Linked DNA regions of Homo sapiens: regions 2, 3, 4, 5 and 6 are each linked to region 1. Evidence: promoter capture Hi-C in human tissues and cell types (Jung and others, 2019). All regions are on one chromosome and are shown on one strand. Each heading gives the region's core, a stretch centred on a gene start or on the middle of the fragment in contact. The rest is flanking DNA. Distances are from core to core; before and after follow the strand shown. Region 1 holds the start of SYT4 (synaptotagmin 4). Region 2 overlaps LINC00907 (long intergenic non-protein coding RNA 907). Region 3 overlaps LINC00907 (long intergenic non-protein coding RNA 907). Region 4 overlaps LINC00907 (long intergenic non-protein coding RNA 907). Region 5 overlaps LINC00907 (long intergenic non-protein coding RNA 907). Region 6 overlaps RIT2 (Ras like without CAAX 2).

The links. The method cuts DNA at HindIII sites, captures the fragments that hold promoters and counts their contacts. A contact is called where the count stands out against the background at its distance.
Region 2: a contact is called between a fragment that was not itself captured here and the fragment with the promoter of SYT4 in region 1, in 1 of the 25 tissues and cell types used here (dorsolateral prefrontal cortex).
Region 3: a fragment that was not itself captured here is called in contact with the fragment with the promoter of SYT4 in region 1 in 1 of the 25 tissues and cell types used here (dorsolateral prefrontal cortex).
Region 4: a fragment that was not itself captured here is called in contact with the fragment with the promoter of SYT4 in region 1 in 4 of the 25 tissues and cell types used here (H1 embryonic stem cells, bladder, dorsolateral prefrontal cortex and 1 more).
Region 5: a fragment that was not itself captured here is called in contact with the fragment with the promoter of SYT4 in region 1 in 2 of the 25 tissues and cell types used here (H1 embryonic stem cells and dorsolateral prefrontal cortex).
Region 6: a fragment that was not itself captured here is called in contact with the fragment with the promoter of SYT4 in region 1 in 3 of the 25 tissues and cell types used here (H1 embryonic stem cells, dorsolateral prefrontal cortex and hippocampus).

Annotation. Positions count from the first base shown.
Region 1 is chr18:43,276,235-43,278,746 of GRCh38, forward strand. SYT4 (synaptotagmin 4) reads right to left here and starts at 1,256. Exons shown (of 4, transcript NM_020783.4): 1 at 1,014-1,256. The coding sequence starts at 1,047. The HindIII fragment of the contact is 4,332 bases long and covers 1-2,512 here.
Region 2 is chr18:42,316,216-42,318,727 of GRCh38, forward strand. All of the region lies in intron 3 of LINC00907 (long intergenic non-protein coding RNA 907), which reads left to right. Among named protein-coding and RNA genes, the nearest start is that of LINC00907, 130 kb to the left of the region's middle. The HindIII fragment of the contact is 3,073 bases long and covers 1-2,512 here.
Region 3 is chr18:42,453,172-42,455,683 of GRCh38, forward strand. It overlaps LINC00907 (long intergenic non-protein coding RNA 907), which reads left to right. Exons shown (of 10, transcript NR_046174.2): 5 at 761-927; 6 at 1,736-1,818. Among named protein-coding and RNA genes, the nearest start is that of LINC00907, 270 kb to the left of the region's middle. The HindIII fragment of the contact is 7,748 bases long and covers 1-2,512 here.
Region 4 is chr18:42,501,298-42,503,809 of GRCh38, forward strand. The region is part of intron 6 of LINC00907 (long intergenic non-protein coding RNA 907); the gene reads left to right. Among named protein-coding and RNA genes, the nearest start is that of LINC00907, 320 kb to the left of the region's middle. The HindIII fragment of the contact is 5,394 bases long and covers 1-2,512 here.
Region 5 is chr18:42,616,657-42,619,168 of GRCh38, forward strand. All of the region lies in intron 7 of LINC00907 (long intergenic non-protein coding RNA 907), which reads left to right. Among named protein-coding and RNA genes, the nearest start is that of LINC00907, 430 kb to the left of the region's middle. The HindIII fragment of the contact is 8,203 bases long and covers 1-2,512 here.
Region 6 is chr18:42,756,685-42,759,196 of GRCh38, forward strand. The region is part of intron 4 of RIT2 (Ras like without CAAX 2); the gene reads right to left. Among named protein-coding and RNA genes, the nearest start is that of RIT2, 360 kb to the right of the region's middle. The HindIII fragment of the contact is 6,796 bases long and covers 1-2,512 here.

The DNA of each region.
Region 1 (2,512 bases), core at 6-2,505:
AAACATTTTCTATAACGTGGAAACACTTATCTACTCCCTATGTATTCTCTACTGATAAGGTCTTACAATCTTGAAAGTCAAGATCATAGTTATTTTACTCAGCTTAATAACAATTATCACACATCTGTAGATATCACTCCTCTTCACAACCTTCTATGAAATTTCATGATTTAAAAAATACGTGTAAGTAAAATTCTGACCTTTTTCCTTTGGAATATACTGAGATCTAAAAATAGTACTTTTTTACTCTATGAAGTACGTCTAATTTTATGTACTGAAACCAAAAACTTGGTGTGAGAAAAGGAAAACTGAACGGGAAAATTGGAGCCCTAATTCAAGTTTCCAGCAGCTTTTAGCTAATTGTGCAACCTATAATACTTCCCTCATCTCTCTGGGCTTTGGTTAGCTCAGCAGTGAAATGAAATGGGCTGAGCCAGTTCATTTTGAAACTCTCTTTAACCCTGCTACCATATGATTCTGTCTTTCACTAGCAACATATTTCAAGGATACAAGAAAAACATAGCAGAGAAAAACACCCATATGGTACGCCCTGTAATAAAATATACATTGCCAAACCCCAATAGACAAGTTGCTTTTTTTAACCAAGATCAAACCCCAATGTAACCAGAGATATATTTATCTTCTCCTAATAAAATATAGATTTACCTACAAATAAGAATCACCTACAAAATAGATGAAACCAACATGGGAAAAACAGACCCCTTTTTCTTTACTCAGTACATGCTGCAATTTACAGAAGTACCTGAAAATTTAAGAACTTCCTGAAGGTAAATTCTCCCTAACAGAAGACAGTTTCAGGGAGAGAGATACCAAGGAAGGGAGAGAAGCTGCAGAAATAAGCCACAATTGCCTGACTGCCATTCTCATTTTCCTTTTAAATTAACTACCTAGGAAATCTGTATTCAACAACCGGGCAAAAAATAAATGAATAAACAGTCCACCCCAGAGTATTCAAGGAATAACCGCAGTCATAAGTTCAGTAACTTGCTTACCAAATTCTTCCCGGCTGGTGGTGATCGGAGCCATTTTTTACTGCGTGTTCTGTCCGAGGTGCTGAAGGGAAAACTGCCTGGCTGGATTCACTTGCCTGGATCTCAAGCGCCGGCTTTCGGAGCGCTGAAAACAACAGCGCAGAGCCCAGGGCACCAGCTCCTGGAACAGGGAGGAGGCAAAGAGGGAGGTCCACTCGCCCTCGCACAGTGATTTGCCACCTCGGTTCCTGTTTTGGCTCTTCTGAGAAGCTCGTCTCCGAGACTCCAGACGTGGCTGGAACCCGAATTGACGCAATCCTGACGCTACAGGGCTGAAATCAGCACCTGCCCCCCTCCCCTCCTCCCTTCAAGCTTTCCTTCTTGCTTCCTCCCTCCTCTCTTGAGGATTCAACACATGCTCATCAATTATTTTAACTGTTGGACCACTAGAGATTAGCTTTGCTGTTTTGTGGGGGCTCAGAGGCTCACCGAGATAAGCCCCGAAACTGATCCCTGTCAGTTCCTAATATAAAATCTCCTGATCACCTAGATGAATAAAAATATGTTTCTGAGTTTTCAGAATAACGTAACTTACAGAGGAGAAGTTTCTGCTTCAAATTACTCTTTTTAACATGCAAAAACATGTTTTCTTGCTTTTTAATTTTTTTCTTTGACATGTTATACCTATGATACTTATTACATTTAGAAAAGATTCACTACAAATTGATGCATTTGATATAAGATAGTTTTCCCAGTATAATCCTTTATGTTCTAATAAATTATTAGTCTAAATATTTTGCTGGAACAGTTGATCTTTCCTGGTCTCTCAGCTCTCTTCCCTTTAATATCTGACATTTGACCAGTTAAAGCACTTAGGAACAGATGGGGATAATTCCTTGGATATTCAGAGTCACTCTCAGTTATGACTTTTGCAAATAATAAGGCGCTTCTGAAATGACATTTATGGTTAAAAGGCCTGACTTCTAGTACGTTTGTACAAAATAGTTTCCAAAATCAGGCCAACATCTAAAGTAACATTGGTAACATTGGTTATTTCAAAGGAAAGCATTCCTTTTTCTAAACTGATGATATTCTCGGAGGTGAAAAACTGTGAAAAATATGGTGTCGGATTCTGATTCATTGGAATCTGAAGAGTGTGCCTTTCTAAAACAAATGCTTAGCAATTTTTCAAAGGAAAGAAGTCAAGCTGTAACTCCAACTGTCAATTATTGCTCTGCAAAGAATTTCTTTGCTCTGGAGTTAATAAGGAAATGGCATTCAGTGTGTGCTGGGATGTGGGAGAAGGGATACAGGGTGAGTCTCAGAAAGCTACTGTGCAAGTGACAGGTCCCTGCACATTGGCTAGCAGCAGCCCAGAGCATCAGGGCTCTGTCTGGGGAGAAATTGGCTTCAGTTCTTTGCATCATGGAAAATTTTATAAACCAGTCTTTTTTCTTTGCTATTCTATTTGCTCCCACATACTTGGCATTGGAGTGTTCCTCTAACAGATTTTTTTAAAC
Region 2 (2,512 bases), core at 5-2,504, 960 kb before region 1:
AGAGGTTGAGTGGAAACCTGAACTTCTGCCCCTACCTGGCAGTGATGAGAGTAAGGAGCTGCTACCTTGTTCCCTTCCCCTGACAAAGTGTTGTCAGGACAAGGCAGTTGAATAAAACAATATTTAAATAAGATCTACAACCTCATAACATAATATCTAAAATGTCAAGGCTTTAATTGAAAATCACTCATCTTACTAAGACCCATGAGGAACTCACACTAAATAAAACAAGATAATCAATGAATGTCAACACTGAGATGGCAGAGCTGTAAGGATTATCTGAGGGGAAAAAAGTAAAGAAGTCATACTAAAAATGCCTCAACAGCAATTACAAACAAACACTAAACAAAAAATAACCTCCAAAAAGATATATGAAGTCTCAACAAGAAATGGAAGATATAAAAAAGAACCAAATAAAAATATTAGAACTGGAAGATAACCAAAATAAAAAGCTTAGTGGATAAACTTTACACCAGAATGAAGGGGGGAAAGAGAAAATATGAAGATAGAACAATAAAATTGTATAATCTGAACATCAAAGAGTAAATAGACTAAATTTATGAAAAGAACAAAGCCTCAGAAACCTGTGGGAAAATAACAAGAGATATAACATTTCTGTCAATAAAGTCCCGAAAAGAGGACAGAGACAAAAAGTACTCAAACAACTAATGACTGAAAACTCAAATTTGGCAAAAGATATAAATGTATAGATTGAAGAAGCTGAGTGAACATTAAACAGAATATACCCAGTGAAATCCAACCAGGAAAATTTATAATCAACCTTCTAAAAACTAAAAGAAAAGGTTTTAAAAAAAGTGATAAACAACAGCTTATCTATGGGGGAAAAACAATGTAGATAACATTGCATTTATCATCAGAAATTGTGGTGGCCAGAAATAAAGAGGCACAATATTTTTCAAGTGCTGAGAAAAAAATGGCTTGCAACCCAGAATTTATACTCAGTAAGAAATATCCTTCAAGGAAGATGGAAAAATCAAAACATCAAAATATTCTCAGATAAAGGATTACTAAGAGATTTTTTTACCAGGACACCTACCTTACAAAACATGACTGAAGGAAGTTCTTTAAACCCAAAGCAAATGATAAAAGAAGAAGTCTCTGGAACATCAATTAAGAAGAAAAAAAACAATTAAACAAAGGACTAAATACAATAGATTTTTCTTCTCTTGAGTTTGCTATACGATGTTTGATAGTTAAAGCAAAAATTATAACAATGTCTCTGCTTCTAAATGTATGTAGAAGAAATATTATGGAAAATGAGGCAGAAGAGATCTAAAGGGAATAAGATTTCTGTTCTTCACTCTAACAGGGATGATGATGACACCAATAGACTCTGATAAGTTATGTATGTATAATGTAATCATAGCACAACCACTAAAAAAGTCATCTACCAAAACGCACTCAAAGCACTATTAATACATCAAAACAAAATTTGAAAAATATTTTGTAACCCACAGGAAGACAGTAAAAGGAAACAAAAGCTCAGTGAGAACAAAGAGAAAACACAAAACAAAAAGGCACACTAAAACTCTAACATATCAATAATTACACTATGTGTAAATAATATAAGGGCATTAATGAAAAGACAGAAATACACATTAAACAAATATGATCCAACTGCATGCTGTCTACAGAAAATTCACTTCAGATACAGAATGCAGGGAGGTTGAAAGCACAAAGACAGGGAAAAAAAAATCATGCAAGCATTAATTAAAATAAAGTAGAATTTACTAAGAAGATATAGCAATCCTAAATGCCCACAACCCAAAAAACAGAGCCTCAAAATATGTGAAATAAAAATGAAAAGAGGAAATGGGCACATCCACAATTTTAGTAGTTGCATTTCAGCACTCTTCTATCAAGAACTGATAGAACTACTAGATAGGAAATCAGCAAAAATATCGAAAAACTCAACAGCACCATCAAACAACAAAATCTCAACATAACACTCCACCTCCAAAAAGCAGATAACTATTATTTCAAGTGCTCAAAGAATATATACCAAGGTAGATCACATGCTGGACCATAAAACATACCTACTACATTTCGAAGCATCATACAATGTGTTCTCTGATCACAATGGAATCAAACTAAAGATCAGTACAGAAAGACAACAGATAAATCTCCAAACCCTTTGGAAATATATAATTTATTTCTCAATAGTTCATGGGTCAAGGAGGAAGTCTCCAGGTAAATAATAAAAGGATATTGAATAGAATAAAAATGAATTATCAAAATTTGTAAGATACAGCTAAAGTAGTACTGAGAAAAATATTTTGGACCCTAAATGTTTACACTAGAGAAGAGGGAAAAAAGCTCAGATCATTAATTTAAGCACCCACTGCAAGTACCTAAAATAAGAAAAACAAAATAAATCTAAAGTAAGAAGAAGGAAAAAAAGTAAAGAAAAGAACAGGAATCAATAAAACTAAAAACAAAAACGTAGAGAAAATTAGTAAAACAAAGAGCTGGTTTTTTAAAATCTCAATAA
Region 3 (2,512 bases), core at 10-2,509, 820 kb before region 1:
TTTTGGAAAATTCCTATGCATTTATACATACACATAGCTGTAAATGATTTATTTGCACAAAAATGGATTGTAATATTCTGATAAAAGTCCATTAAGATACGTTGTTAATTGACTTTTTTCATCTAACTATATGTTTTAGAAAACTTTCATATCAGCATATTTTTATCTACCTCGTTTGTATAAATAATTGCATGATATCCTGTATTATGCAATGACAATAATTTAGCCATTTCCTATTGTTGGGCAATTCAGTTATGTGAGAGCCGAATTTAAACGAAATGTTTCAGAAGTAAAATAACACTGGATGGTAGCGAAGTTTAGGGTGAGGGCAGTGGGTGGATGGCAGAAATAGGGTTGGGGAGGCACTGGTGATAAAAACACAGAGAGGAATTTACCAATTGTACAGTGGCTTAACACAAGGGGTACTGAGGGCACCTAGGGTGAAGACAGAAATGGAGCTGGGCCAAAGGGTAGTGTGCTTTAAGCTAAAGGAAGCAATGAAGAAGGATGAATGACCAGAAGCATGGTAGGTATTAGTGATGAGGAGGTATTCAAATTATATGATTAGGTAGAAAGAGCTGCAAGATGTCTTTTTCTTTCTTATTTTTCTTACTGAGGTCTAAATAGAAATGTTCTGGAAAAATCACTAGAGAGAGAGTAATGAGAATGATAACCATTTCTTTGACCTAGAGGCAAGGAAAATGAAGGAGAAAAAGAAATTTTCATTTGAGATGCATTTATTACAATTTGTATCCTTCAGGCACTTCTAGATATCTGTTGAGGCCTGGAAGGGGCAAAACAATTCAGGAAGCAGTTGAAGATAAAGGGGTTTACCATGGAAGAGAAGATCCAGGTGCCTTCATGGAAATGCTTGTGGTTGAAAAGAGATGAAGATGAGGGTCCCTGGAAAGAGGAAGAACCAGCCAGGTATGGTAGCTCATCCCTGTAATTCCAGCACTTTGGAAGACTGAGGCAGGAGGATCACTTGAGGTCAGGAGTTCAAGACCAGCCTGGTCAACATGGTGAAACCCTGCCTCTACTAAAAATACAAAAAAATAATAATAATAATTAGCTGGGTGTGGTGGTGGGCGTGTGTAATCCCAGCTACTCAGGAGGCTAAGGCAGGAGAATCGCTTGAACTGGGAGGCAGAGGTTGCCGTGAGCCGAGATCACGCCACTGCACTCCTGCCTGGGTGACAGAGCAAGACTCCATCTCAAAAAAACAAATTTTAAATTAAAAAAAAAGAGAGAGGAAGAACCAAGCAATGTGGAGTTGAGAGAAGAGGCAGGATATGAACAAGGGTGCTGGGAGTATATGGGAGTATGAGGTGGTAGGTTGAGACGGCCTCCTGATTTCCTCAACTTAGTCCTTCCATTGGCCAAGGAGGAATTGGGAGTGAGAGGATTCAGGCCTCTTAAGAGTTATTCATGACCTGAAGTGAGGGTGCTCATGAGAAAGTTCTGGTCACAGCAAAGAGGCTGACAATAGAAACCAGTCCCTGCAACTGCCACTTTGCACTAGAAATAGCCCCTCTCTCCCTCAGGCAGCAATGATATAGGGAGCAGTGTATCCATACCAGGGTCATCTCTGCAAGCGATTCTCCTAGTCTAGGCTCAATTTCCTCATTTTAAAATAAGTGACTACACTAAATTATATCCATAGTCAAAAATCAAAGATTCCACATATTACCCTTTAGTTCATAAAATTTTCTTTTTTCTTTCATTTTTTTTTTAGGAAAATTATACCATTAGCAAGACTGGCATCAGCAAGTAGTTCGCAGTGTTGGTTGTTCTTGGTTTCGCAGGATTTTATAGGAGGTATGACATTTATTTAAAATGGATTTGTTTCTTTGTTACTCCTATTCCATGCTGGCTAGACAGCTTTCCTTGGGGTCTCTCATCTATTTCAGTGCCATTCCATTCATCACTCACAAATCATTAATTTGCCTGTGTTGTGTTACCTCCTGAGATTTTCTGTTTCTGAGTCAATAGAGTTGAGAGCTAATGTACATTTCACAAATATTCCTGGGAAAGGGCTTGGAGCAAGAATTGAAGAGACTTTATATTTTAGTATAGCATATACCGTAATAACTCATTCCTTTTATATGAGTGTTGAAGAAGGGAACTGCCAGATTAGAGGCAAGTCCATCAAAATCATTCCTCCGTGTATTCAGTCAGACAGAGTTATGTTCAGCTGAGCTTAAATCATAAGCAGTGACTGAGCACCTATGATGTCCCTAGCATTGGGCTGGGATAAGATAATGGAAGGAACATGAAACATGGTTTTTCTCTCAAAATATTCACAATTAGTTGGAGAGACCAAAAACAACCAGGTAAACAGATAAATAAGGATCGAAAGTAAATAATATTAATTGTTAATAAAAGAAAAGGTATTACAAAGCAGAACTTAATTAATGAACAAATAAATTATACAGATAGGAATTGCCATAGACTTTGAAAGAAAATTGAGATATTTCGGGCTATAATAAACAGTGAAGATTTTGAGGTAAAG
Region 4 (2,512 bases), core at 5-2,504, 770 kb before region 1:
GCAAATGTGGCACTTATACACCATGGAGTACTATGCAGCCATAAAAAGGATGAGTTCATGTCCTTTGTAGGGGCATGGATGAAGCTGGAAGCCATCATTCTCAGCAAACTAACACAAGAACAGGAAACCAAACACCTCATGTTCTCACTCATAGGTGGGAGTTGAATAATGAGAACACATGGACACAGGGAAGGGAACATCACACAATGGTGCCTGTCAGCAGGTGGGGGGCTAGGGGAGGGATAGCACTGGGAGAAATACCTAATGTAGATGACGGGTTGATGGGTGCAGCAAACCACCATGGCACATGTATACCTATGTAACAAACCTGCACGTTGTGCACATGTACCCCAGAACTTAAAGTATAATAATAAAAAAATTATTGTACTTATGGGTGAATTTAACTTATTGTTATTAATATTATGAACTACCTATATCTAGTAATGCTTTTGCTTAAAAGTATATAGTGATAGGAAAAACATTCCTATCTGTTTACCCAGCCACTGCGCCTGGCCTATTTCGTTAAGTTTTAAACTTATTACAAATCATAGGTGGTTGGATTCTTTTCAGTTTGGTTGATTTTTTTGAATTAACTGTTTATTACTTTAATTGGAATATAATATTTGATATATTGGAATTTGGATCAAGCATCTTATTTCAAGCTTCCCATTGCCAAAATATTTTGTGCCACGTTTTCCTTCCTTTCTGCTTTTTGGAATTGTTGAGATTAATTTTTTCCTTTCATGTTTGCTGCTAGCAGCTGGGAAGTATTGTATTGATTTATTTAGTAGTTACCCTAGAAATTGAAACATACTTTACTTAGGAAAAGTCTAAAATTGTTCAGTATCATTAGCATCCTTCTAAATAATAGAGGACTTAAAAACATATAAACTACTTTTAGCCATCTCCTGACTTATCCTCTAGTGATTTTGTACTTTTTTTTTCTTTTTCTGAGATGGAATCTCACTCTGTCTCCCAGGCTGAAGTGCAGTGGCATAATCTCAGCTCACTGCAACCTCCACCTCCTGGATTCAAGCAGTTCTTCTACCTCAGCCTCCCAAGTAGCTAGGATTACAGGCATGCACCAGCACACCCAGCTAATTTTTGTATTTTTAGCGGATACGGGGTTTCACCATTTTGGCCAGGCTGGTCTCAAACTCCTGACCTCAGGTGATCTGGCCGACTCAGCCCCCCAAAGTGCTGGGATTACAGGCATGAGACTTTGTGCATTTTATAAGCCAATATCATCAAACATGACTATGTTAAGCAGTTAATGTTTGTTTAAATTCACTAACAAATTTATCACATTAGTGTCCATCATTTTTTTCATCTCAGATTTGATTGTCCATCTGTTATCACTTTGCTCATTATATACTATTTACTATTTATTTATTTATCTTTAGTCAGGATCTGTTGATGTAAATTCAGCTTACATGTTTCAGAAAATATCTTCATATTGCTATGATAAGATATTTTTACTCGGCATAGAACTTTTGGTTGACATTCCTTTTTTCTCTGGGCATATTGAAGATATTATTCCACTGTGTTTAACTTTTAGTTTTGCCAATGAGATGTCAGCTGTCAATGTGTTATTTCCTGGAAGATAATTTCTCTTTCTCTCTTTCTCCCTAGCTGTTTTTTCTCTTTATCATTGGAGTTTTGTGTTTTTATTCTATTATGTTTATATTGTTTAGTATTCATTAGATTTGTTAAAGATATATATAGATACACACACACACAAACACATATAGGTACACATACACACACATATAGATGTCTTTCTTCGATTCTGGAGAATTCTCAGCCATTTTTATTAAAATATTGTCTCTGCCACTTTTTCTTTTCTTCTCTGGAATAAACATAGATATTTTTCTCTTTAGCCTCTGTGTATCTTAGAGTCCTTTTATATTTTCCATCATTCTGCCTCCTTTTACTTTATTCCTGATAATTTCTCAGATCCCCGCTCCACTTTGATAATTTTCTCTTCTGTTTTGCACACTAATGTTTTAAGTTTCAAATAATGTATTTTTTAATTTCTGCAATTTCTATTTGCTGCTGCAAAATCTTCTGTGTTTACATGTGCCATGCTGGTGCGCTGCACCCACTATGTATACATATGTAACTAACCTGCACAATGTGCACATGTACCCTAAAACTTAAAGTATAATAAAAAAAATAAATAAAATAAAAAAAATCTTCTGTGTTTTTCTTCAAGGATGTTTGTTCTCTGCACATATTCAAGCTTGCATTTTATTTTGTCTTAAAATTAAGCAGTTATTTTTTACTTTACCTACTGCCTAGTTATTTTGCTTTTGGTTATATTTTATTTTGACTTTAGAATGTACATTTGGTTTTGTATGCTTCTATTTCTTTATTGAAACTTCCTGTTACTTAAGTTGTTGTTATCACATCTTTCCTTTAATTCACTCAATATAGTTTTCTTTAATTCTTTTACTAAATTTATGATAATTGCTTAAAATCTTTGCCTGCTAAATTCATTATTTGTGTCCCC
Region 5 (2,512 bases), core at 5-2,504, 660 kb before region 1:
CCAAGAAGGAACTAATATAACAGTATGAATTGTTGACTTCAAGAGGGCAGGTGACATCATAGTGTGTGTTACTTTGAGAATGACATGGAAATAGACTGGAGTATGGAGAAAAGGGGAAAATGGGAAATATCTTTCTTTCTGGTGGGTCAAGGATAGCATTGGGTGATCTGCATGTCAGTGAAAATGTTTCAGCCCTTTTTGTCACTACAACATGATGTGGGAAAACAAATAAACCAAAAAGCAATTTAAAAAACATCAAATATTTAGTCATATATGAGAAGATCATTTGTTTCTTTACTGCCTTGCTTTGAAGGATTTTATATTTTATTGTTTTAACTAAAGCAGCAGGATTCACTCAATTAGGTAGGAAATCTCTAATCACAGACTTCCTCCTGACTCCTATGGAAGCTAATAAGAAGATCATTTACTCCTTTATTGTCCTGTTTTTGGGGATTACATTTTTTATTGTTTGACCTAAAGCAGTTGGATTGGCTCAAATGGAAAATCTCCAACCACAGCCTTCTTCCTGGCTCCTATAGCTCATGTGTGACCTTTGCTGTTGCATTGTGGAGCTTCCAGCACAGGCCTTGGCTGGGGCTTGTGGGCACAGATGCTGTCCCCTGAAAGGGCTTAGAAACATAAAATGAAGGTGGGCCAAAATAAGAGGCTCCTGGCTCGGCACATATGATGAGCCGGATGGAGGTGGAAAATTAGACATAATTGCCTCCATGTCATCCAAACTAAATGCCATTTAAAAAACTGCATATGGATTTTGTTTCCCTTTTGATTGTTACGGTTTTTAGAGACATCTGTGAGCACTTGTGGATATGGAAAGCAGGATGCCAAGGGTATAGTTTTGTAAAGGTTTTATCTTTCAGAAGAGAAAGCACTGAGTTTGGAGTCTGGATTACCAAGGGCTTAAATGTTGGGTTAGAGTGCCATTTCTACTTAGGAAGTGTGTTACTGTTGGCCAATTGCCATAATTCTGAACTGCAGATTCCACACATGTAACATAAAATAGTAGTACATTTTATGAAACCAACCAGCCCTATTGCTCATGTTCTCATTATTAAAATACTTCAAGACCATCAGACACCTCCCTGCCTGCAGGACAAGGTCTGATGTCCAACACTGATTAAAGGGAACTCTCTGGTCCTCCATATCTCTCTCTAATCATATTTCTCATACTTCCACTCTGACCCTTCACAATGCTTCCTTCTCTCCAGCCATCCTTGCTACTTGCATCTGACACTATTGTGCCAACCTGTCTCCTGTCTCCTTGCTTTTGTTTTCAGTGCTCTCTGTGTCTAAAATGGTACTTTGCTTCCCTAGTGAATTAACCAACTGAGTTATCCCAGGTCCTTTTTGGAGCTTCAAATCTTAATTATTTTATGTAATTAGCCTCCCACCATTAAAAGAAATTCCAAATACAATTAAGCACCTCTCTTTTGAGTTCGTTGTAACTTAAAAGTTTTTACGTTCCTAGCATGTAACATAGAACTTAATATACATAAAATGCTTAATGCTTTTGTTGAATGGATGGGCCAGTGAATGGGAAATTAGAAGTCATGAGATTGTATATTCATGATGTGGAAAGAAGCTATACTGACCACCAGTTTATGTACCACCCTCACGCCCCAGCCTTCCACACTCGCTATAGTATTTCCATCAAGATTAGAGGTCCAGCACCATCAGGAATGCTCAGAGAAAATGTGAGGCTTGAGTCAGGCTTTGAAGGGTGGTATAGGTACAGGGGAGATTTGAGGGAGAACTAGCCAGTGATGACAGCATGAGTTCAGGTAAAAAGTCACATAATTACCAGTCTGGTTTTGCTCTAAGGCAAAATTTTGTTTTACTGACCGACAGCTTTAGCTACTTGGACGTGCCCATCAGAGTTCTGGCCTTGGATAAGGGGTGCAGAGTCTATCACTCACAAAACCCTATGTCACTCAAGCTCTTACCTTTTTCAAACAACCTCCATCTACTCTTCTCCATTGTGGGGAGGATCACTTCTGTTCCGAGCTAACTTCTCCAACACCTGCTTCTACAATCCCAGCTCACTGGTTTAAACTTTAAGGTACATAAAAGTATTTTCCTCTGCATGGGCTATGAACATAACAAAATTTTTCTCTCCTTTAATGGTGGGAGACTACAAGTCTGGCCAGAGGTAAGCACAACAATAGTAGGGGTGAGAACTAAATAATGTCTGCTACCTATGTATTTTCCCCTTGTCAGTGTATACATATGCATCCATGTCCTGCTCACTTTAGGGTTATGTGTTGCCTTCTATGCTTTTGCTGAATGGATGGGCCAATTAATGGGGAATGAGAAGTCATGGGGTCATATATTCATGATGTGGAAAGAAGCCATACTGATCACCAGTTTAAACACCACCCTTGGGTGCCAGCTTTCAACAGTCGCTACAGCATTTCCATGAAGATTAGAGGGCTAGCACCATCAAGAATGCTAATAGAAAATACTTCAAGGCCCTAGAAGGCATTGAAGAATTTGT
Region 6 (2,512 bases), core at 8-2,507, 520 kb before region 1:
CTAAGGATATCTTCACATATTTGCACTAATAAATAAATATGTGTGTTTGATGTATATTAAATCAATGGTCCTTCTGAACCTTCAGGGGATTGGTTATTGTGAATAGCTAAATTTTCCATTTTAACATGGCCTAAAAATGTACTCTTTGAAGACCAAAAAATTTTATTATTTAATCTATTCTGTTAACAAATTTATATTAGGTAAAAATAGAAAAAAAACTTATGTATTATACTTGTAACACATAAAACAATTATAATTAAATAATAAATTATATAACTCTACAATGTCTGGATCTCCTGCAGAATATAAGATCAAGAAGACAAAGGACATTATATTGTCAGCAACACCTCAATGCTTTGCAAGTGAACCATGTTCAATAAACACCTTTCCTATCTCTTCACTGAATGGAGACTGAATAAATGGATAGGAAGTTGACCAAAGAGTAACCAACCAATTACTACAGAAGAAACCCTCCATGAATTAACTAGAGAATTAGAAGCTGAAATCTCATTTGAATTACTTAAGGTTTTAACTTATTTTCATTAACATATCTGTGCAATTCATGCAAAGTGTCAAAATGCTTGATTACATATGTTGTCAGGTTAGAACATGGCCCTGCAGAATCTCTGGACAGAAAAATAAGAAGACCGGGTCATCATGCCTTCTTGAATGGAATCTAGGGACCAGAGTAGCAGATGACTTTGATGAAGCCTATAGGAAAGCTCAAGGTTCCCCAGAGGTATCTTGGGCTCCTTCAAGCTCACAATCAACCTATATATCTTTTTGGATTATATTTGGGTAAGGCTTGCCATGAAAAGAAGGATGAACTAGAACAAAATAAATTTTACAAAAGTTCTAACCCTAGTATCTACAGAAAACAAAACTGAACCAATATTCTACGTTTTCTGGCCTTACACACACGGAGACAGGCATTTTTTGAAAATGTACGTGCCTGTGCTTATTGGTACCACTATACATTTATATTTCAATCTTAGCAGAGTCATCACTGCTCTTGTCAATTGTTCTGCTTATTATCAGCCAGTTCCCTGTCCTATTTCTCGTTTAGTTCTTCAAATCCTTCATTTCTTGTCTCAGATCTCTGACCCCATCCTTATTTTAAGCAGATGCTCTCACCCTCCTATTTCACCTCAGTGAGGAAATAAAAGCATCCCAAAAGAATGATTTCAACATCCTGGACTAGCACCTAGAAACTCATCTGTATTATTAGACATCTTATCTTACTCTTTCTCCTCTCAGGCAAAGAGAGGTTACTGATTCTTGTCAAGTTTGATACCTCTATCTGGGCTGAATAACCTTTTTTTTTTTTAATCTATTTCAATCCTGCAGTATTAGTTGTCCCACCTTTTTCCTATATTTTTAGTCTTCTTCTATAACAGCCCCTTTGGTTTCAGAAAAATATTCAAGTCTCAACTATTTTTAGTGCCCAGTTCATTTACGCTCTTATATCTGCCCTTTTTATAAGGTTAAACAGAGAGAAGATAGGGCTGGGGAAGGAAAGGATTAGAAAAAAAAAGACGTACAATTTCAAAATAAAATACATTATAGGTTTATGTGCTAGTTTGTCTTAATCACTTCTAATTTGCACATTAATATTCACAATCTGTATTCCATTTCACCTCATTCTTCTAACATGGTTTTGCAAAAGTACCATTCTTACTGTCAAATCCAATAGATGTTTCCAGCAATTTTTACCAACTGCAATATTTGACAACTTGCCTAGTCCCTTACTTCAATTCCTCTCCTTTGAATTGATGCTTTCCTCCTTTCTTGACATTCTAATCCTTTTTTTTTTTGATAACCCTTGTTTTATTTTTATTTTTATTTTGAGAAGGAGTTTTTCTCTCATCACCCAGGCTGGAGTAAAATGGTGCAATCTTGGCTCACTGCTACCTCTGCCTCCCGGGTTCAGGCAATTCTCCTGCCTCAGCCTCTCAAGTGGCTGGGATTACAAGCATGTGCCACTGCACCCGGCTAATTTTTTTTTTTTTTTTGTATTTTTAGTAGAGACAGGGTTTCACCATGTTGGCTAGGCTGGTCTCAATCTCCTGACCACAAGTGATCTGCCTGCCCAAAGTGCTGGGATTACAGGCATGAGCCACCATACCTGGCCTGATTACCCTTTCTGAATATTCTGTCTGAATATTCTGATGTTTGACTCTTTACTCAGGCTTTTCACAATTATGTGCCCATTGATTCTGTCCTTGATTCTGACCAGGACTTAAATCATCAACTCCTACAGTTCCCAAGCCCTCAGGCTTGGACTGGAGCTATACAAATGGCTTTCCTGAGCCTCCAGCTTGCAGATTGCAGATGTGGGACTTGTCAGCCTTCGTAGTAGCATGACTCAGTCCTTCATAATAAATCTCTTTCACTATATCTCTGTATATCCTATTGGTTCTGTTTCTCTGGGGAACCCTGAGTGATACAATCCTAAAAGCAAAAGAATTCAGGATTGCAATAAGCTTAAGGGTCATCTTTCAGGACATTAAAT